Linked DNA regions of Homo sapiens: regions 1, 2, 3 and 5 are each linked to region 4. Evidence: promoter capture Hi-C in human tissues and cell types (Jung and others, 2019). All regions are on one chromosome and are shown on one strand. The core of a region is centred on a gene start or on the middle of the fragment in contact, and the rest is flanking DNA. Distances in the headings are between cores, read along the strand shown. Region 1 has its middle 47 kb from the start of LINC01647. Region 2 holds the start of C1orf167 (chromosome 1 open reading frame 167). Region 3 overlaps DRAXIN (dorsal inhibitory axon guidance protein). Region 4 holds the start of UBIAD1 (UbiA prenyltransferase domain containing 1). Region 5 overlaps CIROZ (ciliated left-right organizer protein containing ZP-N domains).

Region 1 (5,686 bases), core at 981-3,480, 290 kb before region 4:
GGGGGTGGGCTGCGAGGGGCTGCCCAGCTCTCAGGAAGCTCCCCTTGCCTCCAAATTGTGGCTGGAGGGGTGAGTGTGGAAACTCCCTCGGATACCCCTGAAAGATCCGGGTGACTAATGGCTCAGACCCCCAGCTCAGGGCAGGAAATGTGGGCTTGGGCCTCAAGGAGGCCAGGTGGGGAAAGCTGGAACTGGTGAGCCCATGTTCTCACCCCAGGCCTGCCCTTGCCCTGTGGGTGCAGGAGGCAACCCTGTGGGTGCAGGAACTCAGATGATGAATAGACTTAAAGTCTATTTATTTTTAAAATAGACTTTGTTGCTGCTATTATAATAGCAGACGTGTTCAGTATGCAAAATTTGGGAACTGTAGAAAAGAAGAAAGTAGAGAAAGAGATCACTCTTGTTTCTACCACCCAGGGGCAACCATCAACATTTTGGGTTATCTTTCCTTCCAGGTGTTGTTGTTTTTTTTCTCTATGAGTTATTTTCATTTCACTGGGTTCAAACTGGTGTTTTTTTTTTTTTTTTTTTTTTTTTGATATGGGGTCTCACTCTGGTCACCCATGCTGGAGTGCAGTGGCACTGATGCAGGGCAGGCGAGCCCCAAAGTGGGGCTGAGTCCATGAGGGTTCTTGGCTTTTCCCAGGAAAGAAATCAAGGACAAGCCGGTGGTAGAGTAGAAGGAAACAGCTTTATTGAAATGGCAGTCCTACAGCTCTGTGACTGCTCCTGCAGAGCAGGGCTTCCCTGCAGGCAGAGAGTAGCAGCTCAGGGCAGTTTTGGAGTTATATTTATATTGATTTCTAATTACATGCAGATTAAGGGGAAGTTTATGCAAAAATTTCTAGGTAAGGGATAGTAACTTTTGGGTCACTAGGTCATTGCCATGGAAAGGGGCGGTAACTCCAGGTGTTTCCATAGCAACAGTAAACTGACATCGCACACTGGTGGCATGTCTTATGAAAAGTTGCTTTCCCCTGTCATCGTCCTGTTTTAGCCAATCCTCAATTTGGTCCAATGTCTGAGCCCCACCTCCAGAGTTGAGCCCTGCCTCCTACCGCAGTGCACCGCACAGCTCAGGGCAGCCTTGACTTTCTGGGCTCAAGCAATCCTCCTACCTCAGCCTCCTAAGTAGCTGGGACCACAGGCATGCACTGCCATGTCCAGCTAATTTTTTGACTTTTTTGTAGACAGAGCCTAGAACTCCTAGGCTCAAGCAATCCTCCCTCCTTGGGCTCCCAAAGTGCTAGGATTACAGACGTGAGCCACCGCACCTACCCTGATACTGTTGATATAATTTTGTGTCTTGCTTTTTTCCACTTTCTCCTATGGCATATAAGTATTTCCTCATGTAATGCCCAAGTCTTTATAAATAGCATCTTGAATGGCTGGGAAATACCCCACAGAGGGAGTGCCGGGCCGTTTCCCTAGCCAGTCCCCTCTTGCTGGACCTCGTGGTTGTTTCTGGGACATGAGTAGTCATCAGAGCTGGCAGCCAGCAGCAGGGAAACTGGTGGAGGCCCGGTGTGGGATCTCAGGCCGACTGGGCAGGCCTGGGGCAACGAGTCTGGAAGGCTGGCTGAGCTGCATTCACCGGCCACCTGCAAGGCCTGGCGCCCAGCTGTCGCCACTGTCAGACCTCCTCATCTGCAAGCAGCTTTATCTTCATTTCTGACGGATCTGCGGGGCCCCTGCCCTGACACTTCCTCTTTATGTCTCTCCCTCTCAGAGCCTCTCTGTCAAGTAGCTAATGAACTGTAAACAGACACTCCAGTGCCCCAGGGGGACCCTCCAAGGAGCTCGCAGAGCTGCCTCTCGACAGCAAAGAAACCTCAGGGAGGCAGATAATGGCCGGCCAGTATCAGCCCCGCTGGCTGGCGGGGACAGAGACTGTGAGTCCCTGCATGTGCTCTCCCTGCTGGGGACACAAAGGCCCAAGGGGCAGAGGGATGGCAGGGGCTCTCCTTAGACAGCCTGTGCCCTCAGATGCCATTGCTTATTGCTTTGGAAGCCTCAGTGGGTCCCTGCCCCACCTTCCTTGTCCCTGTCCCCCAGCCTCCCAGCTGTGTGTAAGCCTGGTTCATGGCTAGACTCAACAGAGGACCTTTTGGAAAATGCAGATTCCCAGGCTCCTGAGGCTAAAGATTGGGACTCAGTGGGTTGGGTGGGACTCCCATCTGATTAGATTGTCAAAATGCTTTGGGGACCACTGGTCTAGGCCGGGGACACACCCAAAGCTTGTTCAGAAGCCCTCTTTTCTGGGCAGCACCCCAGGATTGCCCCCTCCTCACTTGGAGCTTGGGGTTGCTGTGCTTTTAAGGAGCCCTGATGTCACTCCATTCAGGGTGGGATGGGCCCTTTACACTGCATCTCTCTGTTAGGCTTGGAGCCCTTTGAGGCCTGGCGCACAGTAGGTACTCGACCACATTTAAGGCGCACTTTGCCTTGGGCCAGGCGTTATCTTACATTCCCCCCTTTCATCCTCACAGCACTTTGTGACGTGGGGCCTTTTATTTCCACTCCCATTTTACAGATGAGAACACTGAGGCCCAGCAAGGTTGCATAACTTCCCCAGGTCACATGGCCTGTAGGAGGAGGATAGGATTCAAATCCTCTCCCCTCATTGCTACGCCATGGATACAAGTCTCTTATCAGATACATGATTCACAAATGTTTTCTCCCATGTTGCACATTGTCTTTTTACTTCCTTGACAGTGTTCTTAGAAGTTCAGAAGGTTTTTTTGTTTTTGTTTTTGTTTTTGTTTTTTGAGATGGAATCTCGCTCTGTTGCCCAGGCTGGAGTGCAATGGTGCCATCTCAGCTTACTGCAACCTCCGCCTCCCGGGTTCAAACGATTCTCCTGCCCCAACCTCCTGAGCAGCTGGGACTACAGGCGAGCGCCACCACGCCCAGCTAATTTGTGTAGAGATGAGGTTTCAGCATGTTGGCCAGGCGGGTGTCGAACTCTTGACCTCAGGTGATCCACCTGCCTCGCCTCCCAAAGTGCTGGGATTTCAGGCGTGAGCCACCACCCCCGGCCAGAAGTTCAGAAGTTTTTAATTTTGTTAAAGTCCAATTTATCTGTTTTGTTATTTTGTTACTTTTGCTTTTGGTGTTGTATCTGAGAAGGCTTTGCCTAACCCAAGGTCATGAAGATTTACTGCTATGTTTTCTTCTAATAGTTTTATAATTTTAGTTCTTACATTTAGGCCTATGAGTCATTTGGAGTTAATGTTTGTGTACAGTGTGAGGAAGGATCTCATGCCTTTATTTTTAAATTTTTTTTAGAGACAGAGTCTCAGTCTGTCACCTAGGCTGGAGTACAGTGTGGTATGATCATAGATCACTGCAAACTCTAACTCCTGGGCTCAAATGATCCTCCTGCCTCAGCTAGGACTGAAGGTGCACACCATCATGCTGGCTTTCTTTTCTTTTCTCCTTTCTTTTCTCCTTTCTTTCTCTCTCTCTCTTTCTCTCTCTCTCTCTTTCTCTCTTTCCTTCTTTCTCTCTTTCTCCCTTTCTTTCTCTTTCTCTCTTTCTTTCTTTCTCTCTCTCTCCTTTCTCTCTCTCTCTCTCCTTTCTCTGTAGAGACAGGGTCTTGCCATGTTGCCTGGGCTGGTCTTGAACTCATGGGCCCAAGCAATCCTCCTACCATGGCCCCCCAAGTGGTGGGATTACAGGAATAAGCCACCATGCCTGGCCTCTACTCTTTTGTTTTGCTCACAAGTATCCAACTGTCCCTGCATTGCTTGAAGAGGCTCTTCTTTCCCCATTTAGGGCTCACTTTTGAGGACAGGAGGGAGGCAGGTTTAGCAGTGTGTCTCCCCTGGCAAGTCCCATTACTCAAATCTCAGAGGTCCCAGAGAGGCCATGACAAGCCTCCAACTAGAGCCACCCCAAGCCCTGGATTTTCCATCTCAGGGTGACTCTCCGGGAACGCGGAGACACAGAGGGGAATCGGAGGGACACAGAGGTTGGCACAGCCTGTGAGGGAGGGCAGTCACCCCAAGGAAGATGACCCAGGCCATATACAACTTTCTAGGGAGGTGCTGGAGCTGACCTCTGCCTGCAGAGGGAATTTCGCAGGTCTGGGGACTCTAGAAGGAACACTGGGGAGGGGTTCTGCCAAGTGTTTGGGTGGGGGCAACAGGACAGTCTGAGTCAACAAGATTCTCCCAAAGCCAACTCCTTCAGCTCTCCCCATGCCCATCTGATGGCGACTCCTCAATCCCCAAGAGGGCTTCCCTGTGCCAGCTGGGGCCCTCCCGTGGCCTTCTCCCAGGACTCCTGTGTTCCTGCCTCCGGGTCTTTGCACCTCCTGCAGTCTGGGATGCTCTACTGAGTCTCTCCAGTGCTGCCTGCTGCTTGCTTCAAGGGCCGCCCAGAAGCCCACCCTGTTTCTCCCCACCTGCTCTGGAGCAGGACGTTGCCTGCTCTCACCTGGAAAATCCGGGGACAGCAGAGCCCTGAGACCGTCGAGGCCAGAGGTTTGCACACTGTTCCTCAGGGGTCTCTGCAGGGCCAATGGGCAGAACTTTGGATCCTCCCAGCCACCACCTTCCAGACCCATTTCACATACGGAACTTCCACTGAAGACTGTTTATACAGAGGGTCCCATGATTTGAGAAGTTTGAAAACTGACTGATCTAATCCAATTCCATCATATTACAGCTGCATGAATGAAAGCCAAGGAGAAGGGCCTTGTCTAAGTCTCCAGAGTAGAGCTGAAATAGAACATGGCCCCCCGATCCCCCTGTTCCCCCAGATCCTGTCCCTGTGTCCGAGAGCTTCATGGTCCCCTCCCATCCCCTGCTGCTGAAGCCCCAGTTGGGCTGTGTGCTCAGATAGAAGTAGGGTGAGCCCCCCACCCTCTGCCCCACCTGTCTCCCCACGGTTGAGTTTGCTGCCCTGGTTCCCCTGCCTATCTACAGCCAAGCTAATAAAATCCTGCAGTTTCCATAGATTGTAGGGTCCCGCCGAGCCCTCCGGCTGCTTTAGTTTCCAGTTGGTTTTGCAAGGAGGGGGAAAAGGCAAATGCCTATCACTCCACCTTTGGAAGGAGACGATGAATAGTAACTCCTTTATCTCTGAAGGAGATCTTTTCATGCTTGAAATTCCCTGATCTTGTCCCAGATCTGCCTGCAGGGATTCAAGATGGCATCCCCCACCCCATGCGGATTTGCTGACATCCTCAGATTTGTGTCAGGCACAAGGACCAGGTCCCTGGGGGAGGTGAGGATGCCCAAGCGGGAGGCATGAAAGAGCGGGGTCCCCGCCCTGGTGAGGGGGGTGAGTAGCTCTTCTGGTGCCACAGAGGGAGGGGAGGGTGGGGTCTTGGGCTCAGAGAGGGGTCTGAACTCATCATAGAATGCGGTTATGTGTGTTTGTGTGTGTGTGTGTGTGTGTGTGTGCGCGCGCGCGCACATGCACGTGCGTGCACATGCATGAACACTTTTGGGTGAAGGGACTGGCAGCTCAGAGCCTGCGTGTCCCCTCTGGTTTGGGGTCTTGTTTGAGGCAGAGAGGCGTCAAATGGGTCCACAGAAGGGAGCGGTGGCAGCTGAGGGAGCCCAGTGTCTGAAATGAAACATGGATGAGGCTTTAGCATCCTGGTAAATTGGTAGCTGGGGCTGTGGGCGGTGCTCCAGCTGGGGCTGGAGGCCCTGGCACTTGTCTAAACTGATAA
Region 2 (5,618 bases), core at 1,365-3,864, 490 kb before region 4:
CTGGGATTACAAGCGTGAGCCACCACGCCCGGCCCTCTGTGGCTTTCTTAAAGCCTCAGCAGCCTGAGAAGGGATGTCCCCAGGACCGAGCTGTGGGGGCCCCATCTTAGCCAGGGGCACCAGCCAGGCCTCTTCCTGACCTCACTCTCCCAAGACCCCCCTCCTTAGGCCCCAGGCTGGGAAGACTCTGTCCTATGTCCAGCCGACCGTGGGTGGCTGATCTCTGGAATTAGCCAGGCCCTATAGGCTGGCCTGCCTGGGAGGGGGGCTCTGGGCCAATACCTAGAGAGGGCCCTGCTCCTGTAACTGCCCATCCAGGCCCACTAAGCCTCTTGCCTGGCTTCGGGAGCGCTGCAGGCTTTGGGGACACATTCTCCTTGTGGCTGGCATCAGACCTTAGCTCCATGGGCTCAGGGACAGGAGTATCCTTGGTCCACTCCACAGTGAGTGGCCTGGTCTGTTTAATCAGATGGGCCCTGCGGGGAGAGGACAGGTTGCCCTGGCTCTCATTCAACCCCACCCCATTCTGATCCCTACCTCCTCCCTTTAGCAGTACTCCTAGCTGCTCTTGGCCTGGTCCCAGCTGCCTGGGGCCTGCCCCTCACTGTTCTGGTCTCTCAGTGGCTCCTCTCCCTGCCCTACTTATCACCCCCCTTTCCATATTAAGTGTCCAGGTCAAATGCTGCCCCATCCTGCCCCCCAGACCTCTCGGCTGATCTGCATACAGGTCTGAACATGCAGGTCCAGCGACCTCCTCCACGCCTACCCGGATGTCTAACAGGCATCTCAGCATTAATATGTCCAAAACTGAACTCCAGCCGTCCTCGCAACCAGCTCTCTCCCATCTTGGTGCCCCCCTTTTCCACGGATGGCAGCTCCGGCCTTCTGGTGGCTCAAACAAAAATCCTGGAGCCACCCCGATTCCCCTTCTCCCTCACACCAGTGGCTGCTCTGACAGGCTCTGCCTCCCACACGCATCCAGGATCTGACCCCTGGAGCACTGGGCGGAGTGGCCCTCACCTGCCACCTCCCAACTGGTCACCCTTATTCTGCCTCGTCCTCACGCCCGACAGCCTCCTCTTCATGCGGCGGCAGGGTGATCCTGTAAACACTGAAATCAAATCATGCCCTGCCTCAACTCTAATGCCACAGAAGCTCTCCAGCCCCCTCAATGCCCCGTGAGCCTTCAAGGCTGTAGGCCAGAGGTTAGCAAATTACTGCCTGGGCCAGTGGTCTATTATGTGAATAAAGTTATATTGAAACAAAGCCCATTTGTTTACAGACTGTCTGCTTTCCAGCTGCAATAGCAGAGCTCAATAGCTGCAAGATACCTTAGGCTGCAAAACCTTTTTTTTTTTTTTTTTGAGCCGGAGTCTCACTTTGCCACCCAGGCTGGTACAATGGCGTGATCCCGGCTCACTGCAACCTCCGCCTGCCTCCCTGGGCTCAAGGGATCCTCCCACCTCAGCCTCTAACAAGCTGGAACCACAGGCACATGCCACCACGCCAGACTAATTTTTCTATTTTTTGGTAGAGACAGGGTTTCACCATGATGGCCAGGATGGTCTCGAACTCCTGACCTCAGGTGATTGGCCCGCCTCGGCCTCCCAAAGTGCTGGGATTACAGGCGTGAGCCACCACACCCAGCCCCGCAAAGTCTTTAAAATCTGGCTGCCAGTTATGGTCCTCCCCAATTCCTCTTCCCCTTGCCCACTGTCCTCCACACACACCAGCCCCCTGGCTGCTCCTCCAAATGGCACACACGACCTCACCTCAGCGCCTCTGTGCTGCTGTCCCCTCTGCCTTCAAGTCTTGCCTCCCACATCACAGTGAGCCCTCCCTGCCCACTGTCTCTCCAACTGCAGCAACCTGGCCTCTCCTCACTCTCTTTGCCCTGCACTTGCGGCCACCTAACATAGTGAAGAAATTAGTGTATTTCTCCCTCCAGTGGCCTAGGAGCCACACGAGGGCAGGCTGGTTTTTTTTGTTTGTTTGTTTCCCTGCTGGATTTGCAGCCCATAGAACAATGCCTGACCCCCAGCAGGGGCTTGTAAATGCACATTGAATAAATGACAACCGTGCTAGGCACCTTGCAGCCTTCAGCAGGCGTCCTGCCATTTAATCTGCACTGCAGCCCTGGGACTTAGGTTCCCTGTTTTAGAAATGAGGACAGGAGCTTAGAAGGGCCTGTCCCACCCAAGGCCTCAGAGGGAGCACCCCAGGGCTGGCTCCACAGCGCAGACTCCTAACCAAGAACACCCCACCATCCCCTCTTGCCCAAGTTGACTTGAGGCCGCTCAATCCACAGGAGACCTTCCTGCACCCCTGCCCCTCACGCCGGAGCTCTTCGGTCCATTTCTCCGCTCCTCGTCCGTCTCCCTCAGACTCCCCCCTCCCACTCCACCCCCACCCCTGTCCACTTAAGGGGGCTCACAGCCTCCCTCCTCTTGCCACCAAAAGAGTCTGAGGTCAGTTTCCTGCCCTCATGGATCTGCCCTCACGTGCGTGGGTCCTCCTCGGGTCCTCCTTCACCCAGTCGGATTTGAATCTAGACGGGGGCTGGGACCGCTAACGATCCCCGCAGGTCGGCAGGTCGCGGGCGGGAGGGGACGTCGGAGAGCAGAGCGTGCTGCCCCGCGCTTGGCCCCGCCCAGCCCTGAGCCGTGGGCGTGGCCACCGACGTCCTGGTACAGGTTTTGCCGGGTCCTCCGCAGGCAAGGCACGTGGTCCCAGGGCAACTTTTGCACGTGCAAGATGAGCGACATTCTCTTGGCCATCAGGTCCCCGGGAACCTCCTCCACCCTCTGCCCCGAATCCTGTGGCAGCATCACTGGGGTCTGGGCTTCCTCCACCAGGCGTGCCTCCTCTTGGCTCCTTCCCGCACCTAGAGCTGCCTCCTGGAGCCCCCGCACATCTGGGATACCCCCAGCCATGTCCCCACCACCTATGCCTCTTGGGGCTGCAGGACATGCCCCCGGCTCCCACTGGTAGGAACCCCAGGGGCAGGACATCCGGGTCATGGACACTCACATCCTCACCCGTTCCCAATAGGTGCGATGTCCCATCCAGGGATGTCTCAGATGCAGCTGGCAAACCATGGCCCTCATGGCTGAGGACACACCCGTGATGGGACCCCAGGATCTGGGGGGCAGCCACCACCCTGATCACCACCTGGAATGCCTCATCCTGGACCTCCTCCAATGAGCATGTCCCCCAAGGGGTCTCGGTCTGGATCTCCCATGGGTCACTCACGTCCTATGCCTCCATGGTATGTGTGGACCTCCTCCACCGATGCTGCCTCATGGATACACTGGCCCTCCCCAACACCCACCCTATGGCTTCCGGGGGGGACTCTCCCTCCACCCAGACCCACTCCGGGGCCTCCAGTTCCCCCTCAAGGCCCACTTTGGGGCCCTCTCCCTCAGTAAATTCACATTCTTCTTCCTCCTGTTATATCTTCCCAATATCTTTTTGATTCCTTGGACCAGAGATGCTGCAGCTCCTTGCAACTAAGGCACAAATCCCTTTCAGCCTTCCCATCTTCCTTTTTAATGCCATTTTTTTCCCCATAGAAGGTATTTCTTTTTCATGTTGGTCCTAAGTATTTTGCAAATGCAAAGGAAAATAAAACTATAACAAATTTCTTGTTAAAAGAAAGAAAGAAAGAAAGGCTAGGCACAGTGGCTCACACCTGTAATCCCAGCACTTTGGGAGGCTGAGGTGGACGGATCACAAGATCAGGAGTTCAAGACCAGCCTGGCCAACATGGTGAAACCCTGTCTCTACTAAAAATACAAAAATTAGCCGGGCATGGTGGCGGGCACCTGTAATCCCAGCTACTCAGGAGGCTGAGGCAGGAGAATCACTTGAACCTGGGAGGCAAGGGTTGCAGAGAGCCAAGATCCTGCCATTGCACTCCAGCCTGAGCAACAGACCAAGACTCTGTCTCAAAAAAAAAAAAAAAAAAAAAAGAAAAAAAGAAAAGAAAAGAAAAGGCTGGATGTGGTGGCTCATGCCTGTAATCCCAGCACTTTGGGAGGCCGAGGCAGCCGGATCACTTGAGGTCAGGAGTTCAAGACCAGCCTGGCCAACATGGCAAAATCCCATCTCTATTAAAAATACAAAAAGTAGCTGGTGTGATGGTGTGCACCTGTAATCCCAGCTATTCAGGAGGCTGAGGCAGGAGAATTGCTTGGACCTGGGAGGTGGAGGTTGCAGTGAGTGGTGATCATGCCACTACCCTCCAGCCTGGGTGACAGAGTGAGATTCTGTTTCAAAAAAGAAAAAAAGAAAGAAAAGAAAAGAAAAAAAAGAAAGAAAAACTCTCCCAGCCTTCAGGCACCTCAGAAACTGGCTGGACTCCACCTTAATACCCAAGCTTTGCCGTGCCGTCAGCCTAGCTCGATCACACTTCCTTCAAGGCTGCAAAGGTCCGTCCACTTTCCACCTCCCAAACCTTTGCCCACATTGTTCCCCACTGTGCCCAGCCATCCCACTCCTTCCTCTGTCCAGACTGTATGTTTTCTCCTTTCTAAGCACCTGCTGGGAGAGGAAAGAGCACTCAGTCAGAAAACCTGTGATGAACTCCTTCTGCTGGCCAGGCGCAGTGGCTCACACCTGCAATCCCAGCACTTGGGCAGGCTGAGGTGGGAGGCTCTCATAAGCCCAGGAATTCAAGACCAGCCTGGGCAACATTGCAAGACCTCATCACTACAAAAAAAAATACAAAAATCATCCGGCTGTGGTGGTGCACACCTGTGGTCCCACCTACTTGGGAGGCTGAGGCAGTAAGATTGCTTGAGCCCAGGAGTTCAAGGCTTCAGTGAGCTACGATCATGTCACTGCACTCCAGCCTGGGCAACAGAGTGAGACCCTGTCTCAAAAAAAAAAAAAATCCTTCTGCTGCTGTGTGATCTTAGGCAAGTCCCTAACCTCTCTAAACCTAAGGTTCCTCATATGTAAAAGGGGGATGGTTAGGCCCGATGCAATGGCTCACGCCTGTAATCCCAGTACTTTGGGAGGCCAAGGTGGGTGGATCACTTGAGGTCAGGAGTTCCAGACCAGCCTGGCCAACATGGCGAAACCCCGTCTCTACTAAAAATATAAAAATTAGCTTGGTAGTGGTGGTGCGTGCCTGTAGTCCCAGCTACTGGGGAGGCTGAGGTAGGAGAATCTCTTGAACCCGGGAGGCAGAGTTTGCAGTGAGCCAAGATTGCGCCACTGCACTCCAGCCTGGGTGACAAGAGTGAAACTGTCTCAAACAAAACGAAACAAAACAAAACAAAACAAAAGTGGTGGGGGTGGTAACACCTCCCTCCCCTACCTCTCTGCCTTGATGTGAGGGTCAGATGTTTAACAAATAAATGCCAAAGAACTTTTTAAATGCTAAAGCAATTCTTGAAGAAGGAGGGGGTGATTACTGCTCCCTTTATAGGTCTGTGTGTCTAATCTTTCCTCCTAAATCTGGTGGATGGAAGCTTTTGTTCTTTAGGTTTATTTATTTTATTTTATTTTATTGTTTGTTTATTTATTTATTTATTTGAGACGGAGTTTCGCTCTTGTTGCCCAGGCTCGAGTGCAATGGTGTGATCTTGGCTCACCGCAACCTCCACCTCCCA
Region 3 (6,253 bases), core at 2,211-4,710, 440 kb before region 4:
CGGTGGAATTTGGCATAGCAGCGCAGCCCTGGGCGAGTGGAGGCAAGGGGGGTCAGAGGCGCGAAGGGCCCGTGCCCTCCCCTTCCTTCCCCTGCACGCTCGGGGCCAGCCAGCTCCCTCCTGCCTTCATTATTCTGCCCTACAACCCAGCTTCCTCACGGCAGCCCCAATGAGCTTAAAAGACACGAACCCGGAAGAGGGGAGGAATGAACACGGAAGGAGAACAGAGAAGACTCAGGGCGGTCGGGGCGGTGAACATATTCTGTGTGACACGTAATGGTGGGACATGGCATGCATTTGTCAAAACCCACAGAATGCACCGCACAGTGAACTATAACTTACGTTGACTTCAGTTAGTAATAATAATACATCACTATTGGTTTGTCAAGCAACAAATGTACCAAGAGAGGCCGGGCACGGTGGCTCACGCCTATAATCCCAGCGCTTTGTAAGGCCGAGGCAGGTGGATCACTTGAGGTCAGGAGTTTGAGACCAGCCTGGCCAACATGGTGAAACCCCGTCTCTACTTAAAAAAATACAAAAACTACCCGGGCATGGTGGTGGGTGCCTGTAATCCCCGTTACTTGGGAGGCTGAGGCAGGAGAATCACATGAACCCGGGAGGTGGAGCTTGCAGTGAGCCAAGATCATGCCACTGCACTCCAGCTGGGGCGACAGAGCTAGACTCCCTCTCAGAAAACAAACAAACAAACAAACAAACAAACAAATCTACCACATGATTGCAAGATGTTATTAATAGGAGAAACTGCATGCAGGGGCAAAGCAGGTATATGAGAACCACATTCTGTGAAATTTTTCTAGAAAACTGCTCTAAAAATAAAGTCCACAGGGTACGGTGGCTCACACCCGTAATCCCAGCACTTTGAGAGGCTGAGGTGGGAGGATCGCTTGAGCCCAGTAGTTCCAGACCAGCCTAAGCAACATAGGGAGACCCTATCTCTACAAAAAATGTAAAAATTAGCCAGGCATTGTGGCATACACCTGTAGTCCCAACTATAGGAAGGAGGGGCTAACATGAGAGGATCCTTTGAGCCCAGGAGTTCCAGGCTGCAGTGCGCCTTGGTTGCACCACTGTAGTTCAGCCTGGGTAACAGAGTGAGACTCTGTCTCAAAAAAATTAAAAAATAAAATACACAGATAAATTCAATTAAAAAGTCTATAATCTTGAAAATTGGAAAGGAAAAAGGTTATTAAATTTTTTTTTAAGTGGCTCAAATTCTGCCCTTCCCTGTAAAACATCCTATGGAGAGCCATTGCTTTTTTTTTTTTTTTTTTTGAGATGGAGTTTTGCTCTTGTCACCCAGGCTGGAGTGCAGCGGCACCATCTTGGCTTATGAAACCTCTGCCTCCTGGGTTCAAGTGATTCTCCTGCCTCAGCCTCTCGAGTAGCTGGGATTACAGGCATGCGCCACCACACCCAGCTAATTTTGTATTTTTTTTTTTTTTTTTTAGCAGAGATGGGGTTTCACCATGTTGGCCAGGCTGGTCTTGAACTCCTGGCCTCAAGTGATCTGCCCACCTCCGCCTCCCAAAGTGATGGGATTACAGGCATGAGCCACCGTGCCGGGCCTCCCTTTTTTTTTTTTTTTTTGAGACAGGGTCTTGCTCTGTTGCCTGGACTGGAGTGCAGTGGCATGGCAAGATCTCGGCTCACTGCAATCTCTGCCTCCTGGGCTCAAGTGATCCTCCCCACTTCAGCCTCCCAAGTAGCTGGTACTATGGGTGTGCGCCACCACACCCGGCTAATTTTTTTTTTTTTTTTTGTATTTTTGGTAGAGACAGTGTCTCTCTACCTTGCCAAGGCTGGTCTCCAACTCCGGGCTCAAGGATCCACCTGCCTTGGCCTCCCAAAATGCTGGGATTACAGGCATGAACCACCCCGCCTGGCCTCCAATGCCCACTTCTGTCTACCCTTTCTTTTTTTTTTTTTGAGACGGAGTCTCTCTCTGTTGCCCAGGCTGGAGTGCAGAGGCACGATCTCAGCTCACTGCAACCTCCGCCTCCTGGTTTCAAGAGATTCTCCTGCCTCAGCCTCCTGAGTAGCTGGGATTACAGGTGCGCGTCACCACACCCGGCTAATTTTTGTATTTTTAGTAGAGATGGGATTTCACCATGTTGGTCAGGCTGGTCTCAAACTCCTGACCTCATGATCTGCCCGCCTTGGCCTCCCAAAGTGCTGAGATTACAGGCATGAACCACTCCCCTGGCCTCCAATGCCCACTTCTGTCTACCCTTTCTAAAACAACTGTAGGACTCATTATCATATTATTATCTTTATAGCCCTTATTACTTACTTTTTTTTTCTTTTTGAGACAGAGTCTCACTCAGTCACCCAGGCTGGAGTGCAATGGCAGGATCTCGGCTCACTGCAATCTCTGCCTCCCGGGTTCAAGCGATTCTCATGCCTCAGGCTCCCGAGTAGCTGGAATTACAGGCAAGTGCCACCATGCCCATCTAATTTTTGTATTTTTAGTAGAGACAGGGTTTCACCATGTTGGCCAGGCTGGTCTCACTCCTGACCTCAAGTGATCCTCCTGCCTCGGCCTCCCAAAGTGCTAGGATTACAGGCATGAGCCACCATGCTCGGCCATAGCCCTTATTATTTTCTAAAGACATACTATCTATGTATTTGATTGTTGTCTGCTCATATCACTAGAATGTAATTCATGGGCACAGAACTTGCTGGTTCTTTTCACTACTGAACCCCCCAGTGTCCAGAGCAATGTCTGATACGCAGTAGGTGCTCCCTAAATATTTAACTGATTAGATGAGTGAATAATCAGAACTACATAGCTTTATTGCCGAGGCGGGAGGATCCCTTGAGCCCGGGAGTTAAAGCTACAGAGAGCTGGGATTGCGCCACTGCACTCCAGCCTGGGTGACAGAGTGAAACCCTGTCTCAAAAAATAATTAAATTAAATTTAAAAGTCCACAATTTTAAAAATTGGGAAGAAAAAGATGTATTATCATCATTTTTAAGACAGGGTCTCGCTCCATCATCCAGGCCGGAGTGCAGTGGCACGATCATGGTAGATAACTCTCTGAGGCTAATATGAGCAAAACGGGGCATGTATCTCAGGTCCACAGAGGGGCTGAGCCCCAATTCCCCCATCCAGGAGATGTGTGAATGCTGATTTGATATTGGATGGAACTGATTAATTATCGTTCATGTTTGGCATTTTGTTTTTAAAAGAGTACTTGTCTTTCAGAGGTACACACTAAAATATTCACAGGTGAAATACCTGTAAGCTCCCAGGAGTTGCTTAGAAATCATGTCGGAATAAGGAAAGTGTGTGAGAGATGATAGACACAGATTGGCCGTGAGTTGGTATTGAAGCAGAGTGATGAGAAATGGGCGCTCATTAGACTATTCTAACTACTTTAGTATATATTTGAAACTTTGCAGAATACAAAATTGAAACTGGCTGGGTGTGGTGGCTCATGCCTGTAATCCCAGAACTTTGGGAGGCCAAGACAGGTGGATCGCTTGAGGTCAGGAGTTTGAAACCAGCCTAGGGAACATGGCAAAACTCTGCCTCTACCAGAAATACAAAAATTAGCTGGGCTGGTGGCATGCGCCTGTAGTCAGAGCTACCTGCAGGGCTGGGATGGGAGGATCACCTAAGCCTGGGAAGCAGAGGTTGCAGTGAGCCAAAACTGCACTGCTGCACTCCAGCCTGGGTGACAGAGTAAAACCTGTCAAAACAAAACAAAAACCTGAAACTATTCCCCCCACTTTCCTGGCTGTGTAAGTTTGGGCATCATTAAGCTTTCTGTGCCCCAGTTGGCTTATTTGTACAGTGCGGATCATCATAGCTCCTTTCTAGGGGTGGTCATGGGGATTTCAGTAGAAAAGTGCTCAGCACAGAGCCCAGCACACTTAGGCGAGGTGGGGGCACGGAGGAGTTGAAGAGGCAGCTGGGCAAGTGCATCCTTCCCTGGGACATGCTGGGAAACCCACCCCCACCCCATTATCACACTTCAATGCCTCCTCTGGGATAGAATTCTGGTGTGAAAGCGGCAGCCTTCTGAGGCTGGATCTAATTTAAAGAGATGTGCTCCTGTCTCCTCCCTTCTCCCTCTTCCAGATAGTGGGAGATTGTGCCAGCTTGTATTTCAAAAGTTGAGAAAAGCAAATCTCAGAAATGATGCCAAGAATCAGGACTAAATGAGTTCACAGATTGGGAAGGCACTGATAAAGCTGTTCTTGCTCACGTCTTCGGCTCCCGAGGGATTCTCCCACCTACACCCCCGCCGCAGGCCCATGATCCACCCTCTGCCAGGAAAGCTTGTTCCCCACTCGGTGCAGAAGCCGCTTCGAGAAAGGGAGGCTTTGTGGTTCTCAGAGCATGGGTAGCCCCCCGCAAAGGAGTCTGGACCCACCTTCCACACACATGCAGTCATCGAAGCATTTGTTGTTGAGGCCTCGGTTGTGGGGTGTGCAGAGATGCTCCCGCAGGTCGCAGCAAGTCCCTGCCAACACAGAGAGCACACGCAGTCAGCCAAGCTGAGCCGCCCCTCCCCGCAGCCCTGCACTCGGTCCCACTGGACAAGAGATCCATCATCTCTGTGGCAGGCCGCGCCCTGGCGGGGTGGGCCATCTGGTGTGCAAGGCTCCTGAGTGGAACCACAGGGAGATGTCATGGCCGAGGCCCCCAAGGGTCGGTGGCAGAGACCCCAGCTGCCTCAGATGGGGTACTGATTGACCATGGGAAGAGCGAAGGTGGTGTGAGGTCTCCTCCCAGACAGAGCCAGTAGAACAGCTGGGGGCTGCCAGGTGTGGAGTCAGCTCAGAGCTGGGAGGGGCCTCAGGATCCCCAAAACCAATGTCCTCTTTTGACAGATGGGGAAACTGAAGTCCTGGGCACCTGCCATGGAGCCGGCTCCCAGAGCGACTGTCCAGTCGGCCCAAATGCGGGCCTTTTCTTTGTGCCCAGGGTGAAAACAATGGTTTGGGAATGAAGCAGCCTGTCAGGGAGCTGGTGGTTTGCCTTATACAATGCTAATTGCTGGTTTGGTTGCTGTTTTGTAGAATATTCTGGTCACTGATCTAACAATCGTGGTGCCGTGGAGGTGTGCCGCTCCGATCTCTCTTGGGGAAAGCACTTGCTGGCGGCCTCCAGCTGGTACAGCTTCAGGGCCACCTTGGCCCATGGCAGGCTGTTCCCAGCAGCCCCTGCCAATGACGGGCATGGGGGTTCTGGGGCCCAGCCATTTCTGCTCAGCACGGGCCTCGTCTAACAGGCCACCTCTGTACTGGAGCGCCCATCCGGTGCATGATGTCTGAAGCTTCCTCCATGCTTCCTCCACCTTTCGTCATTCACAAGTGTTTCCCACCCCTAGCCCACCCCAAAATAAATCTGTTGTGCTTTTTGTTTTGTTTTGTTGAGACAGGGTCTTGCTCTGTCACCCAAGCTGGAGTACAGTGGTGCGATCATATCTCGCTGCAGCCTTGACCCCCGAGGCTCAGGTGATCCTCCTGCCTTAGCCTCCTGAATACCTGGAACCACAGGCGCACACCACCAAGCCTGGTTGGTTAATTTTTTATTTTCTTATTTTTTTTAATTTTGAGACAGAGTCTCGCTCTGTCAGAGTGCAGTCGTGCGATCTCGGGTCACTGCAACCTCCACCTCCCAGGTTCAAGCAATTCTTTGCCTCAGCCTCCTGAGTAGCTAGGATTACAGGCACCTGCCACCATGCCCGGCTAATTTTTGTATTTTTAGTAGAGATGGGGTTTCATGGCCAGGCTGGTCTTGAACTCCTGACCTTGTGATCCACCCATCTCGGCCTCCCAAAGGGCTGGGATTATAGGCGTGAGCCACCGCACCCAGCCAAGCCTGGTTATTTTTTTAAATTATTACTATTTTTGGAGATGGAGTCTTCCCGTGTTGCCCAGGCTGGTCCTGAACTCCTGGGCTCACGGGATCCTCCCGCCTCGGCCTCCCATAGTGCTGGGATTACAGGTGTGAGCCACTGCACCCGGTCTCACACTTCTAACTTACCTCAGTATCTGCTTCCTGGAAGGTCCGACGGACCCCCAAGGGCCCCCAGGGTTTAGGACATTAGTTACAACGTCCGGCTTCTTGTTTTTAGACTGTCTCCATGGAGACGGCTGCCGAACAGTGAGGATGTCACCAAAAGCATCTCCAGAATGCCTGGCAGTGTTGCGATGGGACAAGGACAGCATTAAGCCCTGCCTGGTGTCAGGAGGAAGAGGGCAAGAGAGGATCATC
Region 4 (5,725 bases), core at 2,149-4,648:
GCCTACTGGGCTCAAGCAATCCTCCTGCCTCAGCCTCCCGAGTAGCTAGGACTACAGGCACATGCCACCACGCCTGGCTAATTTTTGTATTTTTAGTACAGACAAGGTTTCACCATGTTGGCCAGGCTGGTCTGGAACTCCTGATCTCAAGTGATCCACTTGCCTTGGCCTCCCGAAGTGCTGAGATTACAGGCATGAGGCACAGCACCCAGCCCAAAGTTAGTCTGAAAATGTAAATAAAATGTGGAATGTGTCCAAGAAAAAAAAAAACCTTTGAGTTATGCTTAATTCCTCTGTTTCTCTTTACCTCACATCCAATCCATCAGCAAACCCTGTCTACCTTCAAAGCATATTTAGAATCTGGCTACTTACCTCTTCCACTACCACCCGCTAGATACAAGCCACCAAACATCGCTTGCCTGGATTATTCAAGAGCTTCCTACTTGGTCTTCCTGCCTCTACCCTTGCCCCACTCCCCTTGATCCATTCTCAATACCTTACCCAGAGCAATTCTTTTAAAACATTATATTACATCACTCCCTTGCTCAAAGTCCTGCAGTGGCTCCTCCATTCCAGAGCCAAGACCAGTGGCCTACAAGGTCTATATAATCCGTGTGTGTGCCTCCTTACCCTCCCCAAACGTACTTCTCTTACTTTACCTCTCTTTACTCTCTCCTTCATTCACACACTGGACTTCTTGCTGCTCTGTAAGCTCTTTGGACACATTCCTGCCTGAAGGCCTATGGCACTTGCTGTTGCTTTTCCTGAAATGCTCCTCTCTCAGATATCTGCTTGGCCAACTCCCTCACCTCTTACCTCCTTCAATGTAACTCAACTCAAATACTACCTTTCTGAGGCATGGTCTCACTCTGTCGCCCAGGCTGGAGTGCAGTGGTGTGATCAGGACTCACTGCAGCCTTGACCCCTGGGCTCAAGCAATTCTCCCGCCTCAGCCTCCAAAGTAGCTGGGACCACAGGCAAGCACCACCATGCCCAGCTAATATTTTTTATTTTATATTTTATACAGACAGGGGTCTATGTTGCCCAGGCTGGTGTTTAACTCCTGGCCTCAAGCGATCCTCTCGCTTCAGCCTCCCAAAGGGCTGGGATTACAGACATGAGCCACTGCACTCAGCCAAATGTTACCTTTTTGATGAAGCCTACCCTGATCAAACTACTTAAAATAGTAATCTGTGTCCCATTCTTTGCTCTACTTTTTTTTCCCATAGCACTTATCATCTTTCATATACTATAATCAGGGTGATCAATTCAACCTGACTTACCAGGAACTTTTCTGGTTTTAGCTCCAGAAGTCGCACATCCGACTTAGTCCTGTCACCTTAGTCCTGAGCAAACCAGGATATTGGTCACCCTAACTATAATTTTCTATTTTTACTTTCTGTCTCTTTTCATGATAATACGTAAGTTTCACAAGGGCAGGGATCTGTGACTGCTGTGTTCACACAGAACAGTGCCTGGCACATAATAGGTGCTCAATAAATAGGGCTTACCCACCTGCCCATCACTACCTTAATCAGCCTCTTGCAAGAAGTCACCTAGCAAACTAGCTAGAAGTAATTATCTATATCATTTTGAACTCTTCAGATTTAATTCTAATATTTGAAACTGTGGCATTATAAAGTATGAGTGATTAAAAAAAAAAATGAGACAGAAAAAATGTCCATATAGGCCGGGCATGGTGGCTCACGCCTGTAATCCCAGCACTTTGGGAGGGCAAGACAGGCAGGTCATGAGGTCAGGAGTTCAAGACCAGCCTGGCCAACATGGTGAAACCTTGTCTCTACTAAAAATACAAAAATTAGCCAGGCGTGGTGGCACATGCCTGTAGTCCCAGCTACTCGGGGAGCTGAGGCAGAAGAATCGCTTGAAGCCGGGAGACAGAGGTTGCAGTAAGCCGAGATGGTGCCACTGCACCCTTGCCTGGGCAACAGAGCGAGACTCTGTCTCAAAAAAAATAAAAAAAATTAAAAAATGTCCTGACAGGGCGCGGTGGCTCACGCCTGTAATCTTAGAACTTTGGGAGGCTGAGGCGGGTGGATCACGAGGTCAGGAAATCGAGACCATCCTGGCCAACATGGTGACACCCCGTCTCTAATAAAAATACAAAAATCAGCCAGGCGTGGTGGCGTGCACCTGTAGTCCCAGCTACTCGGGAGGCTGAGGCAGGAGAATCGCTTGAACACGGGAGGCAGAGGCTGCAGTGGGCCGAGATCGCACCACTGCACTCCAGCCTGGGCGACAGAGCGAGACTCCGTCTCAAAAATGAATACATAAAAAATAAATAAAAATAAATGTCCATATAAAATTTTCAGTCATGCCCTACGTCCGTAAGTCAAACCAGGATCTTCTCAAATCACTGTTTCAAAAAATTCACATCACCCACAATTATAGACTTCAATTAAAGCGGCTTAAATTAGAAAGCCACCTTTGACATCCCTATAACTCCTTTACAAAGCAGCGGTTTCCAGTGGACGCGACTAAGACCTGCAGCACACAGGACAGGCCAAATCTTACCTCCTGTGTAGAGAAAGGAGCCAGACAGGCCTCCAAAGTAGATAAGAGCCAAGTGCTCCAGTTTCAGAGGGGACAGGTAGTAGAGGCAAGCGGCACAGACGCAGCCCAACGTGTAGAGGAAGACTCCGAACCGGACGACATCCTGCGGCTCCAAGATTCGGTCCACAAGTGTCCTGTCATCACTCTTTTTGTGGTCAATGCCCTTGGAAAAGTCATAGTAAGTGTTGACCAAATTACCGGCCCCGTGCACAGCCAGGACAGCCACGGCACAACCCACCAAGAGCCTGGGATCCAGGACACCGTGGGATCTGTAGGCAAGGGCACTGCCCAGGGCCACCGGTGTGAGTGAGGCACTGAAGCTCCAGGGCCTCAGGGCCAACACGTAGGAGGCACACTTCTGCCTCCAGGAGCGCTGGGGGAGCCTATCTTGCTCGGGACAGTCGTTCCCCAGCGGGTCCCTGTCCCCAGCTTTGACAGTCTCTCCCGACAGGATGTTAATCTTCTCCCCCAGGACCTGAGAGGCCGCCATGGAAGCTCCACGTGGTTGAAGTAAACTCTAAAAGTGAGCCACGCACAGTGACCGCCCGGGAAGGAGGAAGGACGGGGCGGGGCAGCAGGGCCCGACCTTCCTTCGGTTCCGCCCCAGGACAGGGCTGGTGTGGCGGCAAGGTCCGGGGGCAACAGCAAGTGGGTCTTACACCCCACGAGGCCAAGCGGCGCCGCCCCTACTACCCGTCACCTGGGCGAAGTCTGTCTCCGGCCCCCAGCCCCGCGTTAGAGCCCACGGCTGAGCCGCGGCCGCCTTCTTTAGGCCGCCAGAGCCGCCATCTTGTGCGCCGGCCTCTGGAGGCCCGCCCGGAAACAGGTGCCGGCGGCGCGGGCTGGACCGGAGGGTGGGCTGGAGGGCGGGAGGGGGCGGGGCCGAGCCAGAGGCGGGGAGAAGGGCGGTGAGGGGTGGGGGGCGGGGGCCTGGTCAGAGGCGGGGCGGGCAGGGCCGAGTCAGAGGAGGGGCGGGGTCAGAGGCGGGGAGAAGGGCGGTGAGGGGTGGGGCGGGGCTGAGGGGCGGGGCCAGACCGGTGGTGGGGCGGGAGGGGGCGGGGCCGGGGCGGGAATGGACCGGGAGCGGGGACGGGCCAGGAGCTGGGGCCGGGCGGTGACCCGGCATCCAGCCCTTTTCCTGCCTGCACTGCGCCCCGCAGCTACTTCCAGACTAACTGCAATCAGCCTCTCTTAGCATCATAAGAACTCGAAGGCGTGTTGCTTTAGGACTTACCGGGCGCACTTTCATTCACGAAGTAGGATTCATTAATTTATTCATGCTACAAGCATTTATTGAGCGCCTGCTGTGTGCATACATTCTGACGTCTATCATATCTGCACCGTGGAAATACTCTATGATGTGCTACTGCTCACCTCTTATCAGCTTTTCATTCAGTGACATCCTTCAGCAGCTTGAAATCTGCCCATGGTGGGAGAATTTACACCACGCAAATCAGCAAATGCTTAATAACTGCTAAGTCGTCTAGACTTAAGAAAGTGGCGGAGAAAATGTTCATATTACTGGTTAAACTTAAAAGTGTTGGAGGGTGCGGTGGCTCACGCCTGTAATCCCAGCACTTTGGAAGGCCGAGGCAGGCGGATCACTTGATGTCAGGAGTTCGACATCAGCCTGGCCAACATAGCGAAACCCTGTCTCTACTAAAAATACAAAAATTAGCCGTGCGTGGTGGCAGGCACCTGTAATCCCAGCTACTCGGGAGGCTGGGGCAGGAGAATTGCTTGAACCCGGGAGATGGAGGTTGCAGTGAGCCAAGATCATGCCAATGGGCTCCAGCCTGGGCAACAGAGTGAGACTCCATCTCAAAAAAAAAAAAAAAATTAGCCGGGGGTGGTGGTGCATTCCTGTAATCACAGCTACTCGGGAGGCTGAGGCAGGAGAATTGCTTGAACCCTGGAGGCAGAGGCTGCAGTGAGCCAAGATCACGCCACTGCACTCCAGCCTGGGCAGTAGAGCGAGACTCCGTCTCAAAAAAGAAAAAAAAGAGAGAAAAAAAGTGTGTAAGTGAATGCACCAAAACTTTGAGGAAATATTCGTTCAGCATTGGCAAATTATTATCCAGTTGAACAAATAAGTCGCTTGTAGCCTTGACAAACTAGTGAAGTTCTGACATATCTCTTTTGATTGTTTCACTTTCCTCTTACTCCTAACATAAAATATCAACCAACATTCATGTCTGAACTATGCTCATTGATCAATTGGGACCATAGGGAAGCTACACAACATCAAAGAAAGCATACTGTGAGAACTGGCTATATGGAGTTTACAATAGAGTCCTGTACTGTATATTTTAGTATTTGTAAACTGTATGCTACACATCATTTACATCAGTGAAATTATAATACACATGCAACATAGATGCACACAGGACTGACTACATAATTTGTGGTACCCAGTGCAAACTAAAGAGGTGGAGCTGGGGGTGATAATGTGTGCCTGTAGTCCCAGCTACTCAGGAGGTTTTTTTGAGACGGAGTCTTGCTCTGTTGCCCAGGCTGGGGTGCAGTGACACAATCTCGGCTCACTGCAAGCTCCGCCTCCAGGGTTCACACCATTCTCCTGCCTCAGCCTCCCGAGTAGCTGTGACTACAGGCGCCCGCCACCACGCCCGGCTAATTATTTTGTATTTTTAGTAGAGACAAGGTTTTACCGTGTCAGCCAGGATGGTCTCTATCTCCTGACCTCGTGATCCGCCTGCCTCAGCCTCCCAAAGTACTGGGATTACAGGTGTGAGCCACCGCACCCGGCGGGAGGATCTCTTGAGCTCAGGTTAGAGACCAGCCTGGGCAACAAAGTGAGATCTCCGCTCTAAAAAATTAAAAAGACCAGATGTGGTGGCTCACACCTGTAATCCCAACACTTTGGGAGGACAAGGCAGGTGGATCGCTTGAGCCCAGGAGAAGACCAGCCTGGACCACACGGTAAAAATCGAAGAATTAGCCAGGTGTGGGCCAGGTGCAGTGGCCCACGCCTGTAATCCCAGCACTTTGGAAGGCCGAGGCGGGCAGATCATGGGGTCAGGAGATAAGACCATTCTGGCTAACATGGTGAAACACCATGTCTACTAAAAATACAAAAAAATTAGCCAGGCGTGGTGGCAGGCACCTGTAGTCCCAGCTACTTGGGAGGCTG
Region 5 (6,108 bases), core at 2,435-4,934, 300 kb after region 4:
GGAAGGCAGCTGCCGCTGCACCCGGGAAGGCAGATCCTGCCTGCTCCTAGCCCTCCCCCAAGAGCACAAGGAGGCTCCGATCCACAGCTGCAGTTTGGGCAGCTGTAGCCCCATCCAGGAGGGTGGGGCTCCTGCCTGCTCCACAGAGCAGGAGGCCTGGATCTGCAGCTGCGGTTTGGGAGGTTGCCGAGGCACCCAAGGAGTTCCCGTCCCAACTCAGAAGGGGCGGGGCTCCCACCAGCTCCATAGAGTGTTCGACCCCAGCCACACCTCCCTGCTGCAGCCAGTGTGATGGCAGCAGCCACTGCCACCACTTCTAGGTGCCCTTTCCTCGTGGGGTTGTACAGACGGGGCCAGCTTCTCTCAGCAGCGATGAGTGACAATACATACAGAGTATGCAGACCTGAGAAGAGCTCCTGAGCCTTCCTATCCAGAGGGTTTACTGGAGGTCAGTTGCATAGCCATGGCTGACTACCCACGTGGCTGACTTTAGTCTTTTTAAAATTTTTATTTTGTTTTTAATTTTTTGAGACAGAATCTCGCTCTGCCATCCAGGCTGGAGTGCAGTGGTATGATCTCTGCCCACTGCAGCCTCCACCTCCCAGGTTCAAGCGATGCTCCTGCCTCAGCTTCCCGAGTAGCTGGGATTACAGGCACCCGCAACCACGCCCAGCTAATTTTTGTATTTTTAGTAGAGACGGGGTTTCACCATGTTGGCCAAGCTGGTCTCGAACTCTTCACCTCAAGTGATCTGCCCACTTCGGCATCCCAGAGTGTTGGGATTACAGGCGTGAGCCACTGCACCTGGCCTGACTTTAGTCTTGAGCCCCTCCAGAGGCTGAACTGATTACCACATGGTCCAAGGCCACCAGCATTAATCACGTTTTCAGCAAAGGCTATACGGCAAGGCCCAATGCCCCAGGTAAACAGACACTCTTTTTTTTTTTATTTTAAATTTTTACTTATTTATTTTAGAGATGGGGGGGGCATCTCGCTATGTTGCCCAGGCTGGTCTTGAACTCCTAGACTCGAGTGATCCTCCTGCCTCAGCCTCCCAAAGTGCTGGGATTACAGGCATGAGCCACCACACCCAGCCACAGAGACACTCTTAACAGGCAAAACATTCCAAGGGCTTAGAATTTACTTCCCAGTTGCTTTCACCCAGGAGGGGCAAAGGGCCAATTCTTTGGACCCAAGTTAATTATTTACTGCACATGTGCCCATTTTGCAGAAAAGGAAATGGGGTCTTGGAGAGATTAAATGACTCGCCCCAGGTCACATAGGTTGATCCAGGGTCTAAGCCCTGATCATCCAACTCCAGGGCCCAGGTGCCTTGTGTTCTTCCTGGTGGCTTAAATGTCTCTGTTGAGAGAGAAATTAGCCCGACAATATTATTCCATATTCCCATTTCTTCAGTTGTAGAATAATTCTAGAGTGTGTGTGTGTGTGTGTGTGTGTGTGTGTGTGTGTGTGTGTGTGTATTTCAGAGACAGGGTCTTGCTAGGTTGCCCAGGCTGGAGTGCAGTGGCATTCACAGGCATGATCATCGCACACTAAAACCTCAACTTACTGGGTAAAGGCGATCCTGCTGCCTCATCTTCCAGAGCAGCTGAGTCTACAGATGTGCACCACTGTGCCCAGCTTGGAGTATATTTAACTTAAGCTCTCTATCAACTCTGGGCAGGGCTCTATTGGGGGAAATAGGTTACATCCAACAGGATTCCACTTCCTGGGGCTGAACAATCTCACGATGCTGTTGTTCTTGTGTGATTACAGAAAACTCCAGTGTTCTGTACTAGAGTACTTGGGATGAAAACATGTGCCTAACCCATATTTAGCACGCCTCTGTGGATGCCACGCACAGGGCAAGGTGTTGGGGATGCCATGGTGAACAGGTTAGACATAACTCACGCCTTTTCCTGGAGCTTGTAGTTTATGTGTCATGGGGGAGAAGGAAAAAGACAAATCTCTGGGTCATGGCTTCTCTTATTCTCCAGCTTCAGGGCAGGTCAGGCTCCAGCCACAGCCCTTTGCTGGACAGATACTGAGCAGTTGCTGGCCAACAGGCACTGGTCCATGGGAGGACCCTGGGGATAGAGTGGTCAACAAGGCAGACATGGCCCCTCTCCTTCCTGAGCTTCTCTTTGCCTCAGTGCGAGACAACCTTATCTCCATCTATCCTCACTCGAGTAGAAGTATACAGAAATCTCACAAACAACTAGGTAACATATTCCCAACAGTGATTCAAGTCAGGAAGGAAAGAGACACAGGACCAGGGTAGAGAATGGGTGGGGGTGGTCAGTGAGGACCTCCCAGAGGAGGTGACATTTAAGCTGAGACCTGCAGATGAAGAAGAGCTAGCCACATGAAGAGTTGGGAATGGTGTTTCAAGCAGAGGGAACAGTATGTGCAGAGGCCCTGAGGTAGAGAAAAGACCAGCTTGGCTCAGGAACACATGGATTGTGGAAGTGTTTGGATTTTATTCCAAGGGTAGTGGGGAGCCATTGAAGGTTCTGAGAAGGGACTGACATGATCTCATTTCCATTTTAAGATCCCTTGTGGCTGCCGTGTCAAGAATGGACTGGGGCAGGATGGGCAGAGGCTGGGGTCAGGGGTGACCAGGACATTGCGCACTGCCTCTCCCCTCTGGTCTGGGCACAGGCTGTGCTCTCTGCCTGGAGTGGTCAGCAAAGCTGCAGAATTCCATGGCTGAGCCAGTTTGCCCCTACTCTACCTTTTCTTTTTTTTTTTTGAGGTGGAGTCTTGCTCTGTCGCTTAGGCTGGAGTGTAGTGGCGCCATCTCGGCTCACTGCAGCCTCTGCCTCTTGAGCTCACAGTCTTTCCGCCTCACCTCCTGAGTAGCTGGGACCACAGGCATGCACCACGATGCTCCGCTAATTTAAACAAAAAATTTTTTTCTTAGAGATGGGGGGTCTTGCTTTGGCCCAGGCTGGTCTCGAACTTCTGAGCTTAAGCAATCTGCTCTCCTCAGCCTCCCAAAGTCCTGGGATTACAGGTATGAGCCCCCATGCCTGGCGAGTACTCATATATGTACCATGAAGTCACCTTGCTCCCTGTCTCCCCCTATAAAACATAGAGTTTAGATTTAATGACCTCCAAGACTTTGCTACTCAAAGTGTTGTCCCTGGACCAGCAGCCATCACTTGGGAACTTGGTAGAACTGCTGAATCTCAGGCCCCGCCTTAGACCTACTGAATCTGTATTTTAACAAGTGCTCAGGTTACTTGTAGGCACACTGGAAATCTTTTTTTTTGAGTCAGAGTTTCGCTGCCACCCAGGCTGGAGTGCAGTGGTGTGATCTCGGCTCACTGCAACCTCTGTCTCCCAGGTTCAAGCGATTCTCCTGCCTCAGCCTCCTGAGTAGCTGCGATTACAGGCATGCGCCACCACGCCTGGCTAATTTTTGTATTTTTTAGTAGAGACGGAGTTTCACCGTGTTGGCCAGGCTGGTCTCGAACTCCTGGCCTCAAGTGATCCACCCGCCTCGGTCTCCCAAAGTGTTGGGATTACAGGCATGAGCCACCGTGCCCAGCCTGCAGGCTGGAATTTGAGGACCTCCCCAACAAGTTCTTCCTCCTTGGGCATTCTGTGAACTGTGACCTCTGTATGGAGTAAAGGGTCACTCTGTTAGGACAATATGACCCCTACATGCCCTTTCCTGACTATTCCATTGAAGCCAGGCTGAGAGGAGCTCCTTCTTTTCCTTCCTTCCTTCCTTCCTTTCTTCCTTCCTTCCTTCCTTCCTCCCTCCCTTCCCCACCTCCCTCCCTCCTCCTTCCTTCCTTCTCAGAAGCATCTTCTTGTTGGACAGACACAGTTGAGTGCTTCTCAGACTACATGACCCTGTGGATCCCAAGGAGCCACGTGGAGGGGCTGAGGCGGTGGCTGGCCAGGACCTTGCACTTGCCAGGTAAGAGGTGGTCGGTGGCTGGGCGGGGTCTTTGCTGGGGCTTTTGTGTTGCCTTCCCCTGCCTGCAATGCTCCTCCCCCATGGCTCTTGCAGGTTCCTGGGCATCACTCAAATCTCTGCTCAAAGGCCACCTCCCCCCACAGCCCTTCCAGGCTCTCTAAAGTCGTCCACGCCCACCCCAGTCACAATCCCGGCACTCCTCACTAGTAAGATGATCTCCTGCCATTGTTCCCAAGCTTGTCATCTGCGCCCCTCTTCCCAACAGAAGGCAGCACTGTGAGGGCACGGCCCACGTGCTTTTTGTTTACAGCTGCATCTTCAGAACCAAGAACACTGCCTGGTGCTTAGAAGATTCCCAATAAATATTTGTTGAATGAACAAGTGGCCCAAAGCCCTGGAAGAAGCGCCCATCTGGTGCCGCTATGCTCCAAAATCGAAATCACTCTGCAAAAGTGGAAGTGAGACTAAAGGGGTGATTCTCAAACACTTGGGAGAAATGGGAGGCCATCACATGCTTGGTGGGGGAAGAGCGCACCTAAAATAGCAAACAACAAGGGGCATAGTGTCACTTCCAGAAACCTTTCTGCCATGAGCTTTCCAACAGAAGGAGTAGGAAAGCATTGGATGTCTTCAGCGTACCTGGAACCTTCTGGAACCTTCTGGAGGGAACACGAGTAGAGAGAGGAGCAAATAGCTTGCTTCCCTCCATGCTCTGCATCTCGGTGGCTGCAAAGCAAGCCCCCAGGTTCCTCCTCTCTTTTGCACAGAAAAAGAGATATTGAGGAGGGAGGCTTTCCAATCTCACCCAAGTCTAGGAAAACCTCCTAGGGACCCTGCTCATTCTGGAAATTCCTAAAGCACCTTCTGGGACCGGTAGGGCCTAAATCTGCCCTGGGAGGGCCAACCACCCATTGGCCAGCCAGCCCGGGACGCCTTGGGAGAGACATTTGTGTATTAAAAGGCCACTTTTCCAGGAGAAAAGCTGTGGATACATTAAGCTGTCGCCTGTTCTTTGGAGAGCCATTATTAATGGAAAACAATAGATTAATAGTCTTAAAACGCTTGTTCAATAAGTAATTTTTATGGCTTTGGATAGAGCCCATTAAACATTTCTGTGTGTTATTATAAAGAAGTTTTAAGCGTAAAATCATAAAGCCAATAATCAGAGAATTAGTCACAGCGGCCAGCCACAGGCCATTAGTTTTAGGCGCTGTCAGAGACACCTGTGGCTTTTGAGGAAGAGTTTTCATTTCACGTGGCAGCGCCAGGTGGGGATGGAGAAATGACGGTGCCTGCTGCCTTCCATAAACTTGAGGGGACAGCAAGCAGGTGTGAGCAGCAGGGTGCCAGGCAAATATTTACAAAGTGCAAACGTGAATGCAAAACTAAAACGATCCAGGTCAGTTTGCACATCCAGCTCAGACACTTTATTTCCCCAGCGAGCTACCTTTCACAGTCTTCCTCCGCCAGAGGCACGGCCTTGATCTCTTGCTAAAGATAGCGGTGGAAGCTGCGTGCTTTTGAAAGGAAAGCATGTCACCAGAGAATCCCACGTAGAAAGGCTGCCAGAGCTGTTTTCTGGAATAGCGTATTCATCTTCCATCAAATGCACAGTCGAGTCAAGCATTTGAAAGTGAAACTGTGAGCTTTAAAAATGCTTTAAAAATAATCATGACAGAAGCAATACAAGATAATTACAGAAACTACAGGCAATCCAAAGGAGATAATCAAAACTGCTCGTAATCCCTCTACCCAGAGATAGCCCCCTTTATTTTTCACTCATTCAACAACTACTTATTTATTTATTTATTGAGACGGAGTCTCACTTTGTTGCCCAGGCTGGAGTGCAGTGGTGCAATCTCAGCTCTCTGCAACCTCTGCCCCACGGGTTTAAGCGATTCTTCTGCTTCAGCCTCCAGAGTAGCTGGGACTACAGGTGCCCCCCCACCGCGCCGAACGAATTTTTGTATTTTTATTTGTATTTATTTATTTTTTTGAGACAGAGTCTCACTTTGTTGCCCAGGCTGGAGTGCAGTGGCGCGACCTTGGCGCACTGCAACCTCCGCCTCCTGGGTTCAAGTGATTCTCCTGCCTTAGCCTCCTGAGTAGCTGAGACTACAGGTGCCTGCCACCACTCCCAGCTAATTTTTTTGTATTTTTAGTAGAGACAGGATTTC

The links. Contacts are between HindIII fragments. The study calls those that stand out against the background at their distance.
Region 1: a fragment that was not itself captured here is called in contact with the fragment with the promoter of UBIAD1 in region 4 in 2 of the 25 tissues and cell types used here (heart left ventricle and thymus).
Region 2: a contact is called between the fragment with the promoter of C1orf167 here and the fragment with the promoter of UBIAD1 in region 4, in 1 of the 25 tissues and cell types used here (spleen).
Region 3: a contact is called between a fragment that was not itself captured here and the fragment with the promoter of UBIAD1 in region 4, in 6 of the 25 tissues and cell types used here (aorta, bladder, dorsolateral prefrontal cortex and 3 more).
Region 5: a fragment that was not itself captured here is called in contact with the fragment with the promoter of UBIAD1 in region 4 in 1 of the 25 tissues and cell types used here (spleen).

What each region holds. Positions count from the first base shown.
Region 1 is chr1:11,559,737-11,565,422 of GRCh38, reverse strand. No RefSeq gene overlaps it. Among named protein-coding and RNA genes, the nearest start is that of LINC01647, 47 kb to the left of the region's middle. RefSeq lists an enhancer at 5,452-5,686. The HindIII fragment of the contact is 3,838 bases long and covers 312-4,149 here.
Region 2 is chr1:11,759,189-11,764,806 of GRCh38, reverse strand. C1orf167 (chromosome 1 open reading frame 167) reads right to left here and starts at 2,614. Exons shown (of 21, transcript NM_001010881.2): 1 at 2,502-2,614; 2 at 337-476. The coding sequence starts at 406. It also overlaps the pseudogene LOC101060126. The HindIII fragment of the contact is 8,265 bases long and covers 1-4,928 here.
Region 3 is chr1:11,713,359-11,719,611 of GRCh38, reverse strand. It overlaps DRAXIN (dorsal inhibitory axon guidance protein), which reads right to left. Exons shown (of 7, transcript NM_198545.4): 6 at 4,404-4,493; 7 at 1-28. Among named protein-coding and RNA genes, the nearest start is that of AGTRAP, 20 kb to the left of the region's middle. The HindIII fragment of the contact is 6,853 bases long and covers 34-6,253 here.
Region 4 is chr1:11,270,871-11,276,595 of GRCh38, reverse strand. UBIAD1 (UbiA prenyltransferase domain containing 1) reads right to left here and starts at 3,398. Exons shown (of 2, transcript NM_013319.3): 1 at 2,536-3,398. The coding sequence starts at 3,064. RefSeq lists enhancers at 3,130-3,179, 3,270-3,439 and silencers at 3,440-3,489, 3,550-3,819. The HindIII fragment of the contact is 12,769 bases long and covers 1-5,725 here.
Region 5 is chr1:10,967,793-10,973,900 of GRCh38, reverse strand. It overlaps CIROZ (ciliated left-right organizer protein containing ZP-N domains), which reads left to right. Exons shown (of 13, transcript NM_001170754.2): 3 at 3,812-3,931. Among named protein-coding and RNA genes, the nearest start is that of CIROZ, 11 kb to the left of the region's middle. RefSeq lists a silencer at 5,298-5,397. The HindIII fragment of the contact is 8,687 bases long and covers 1-6,108 here.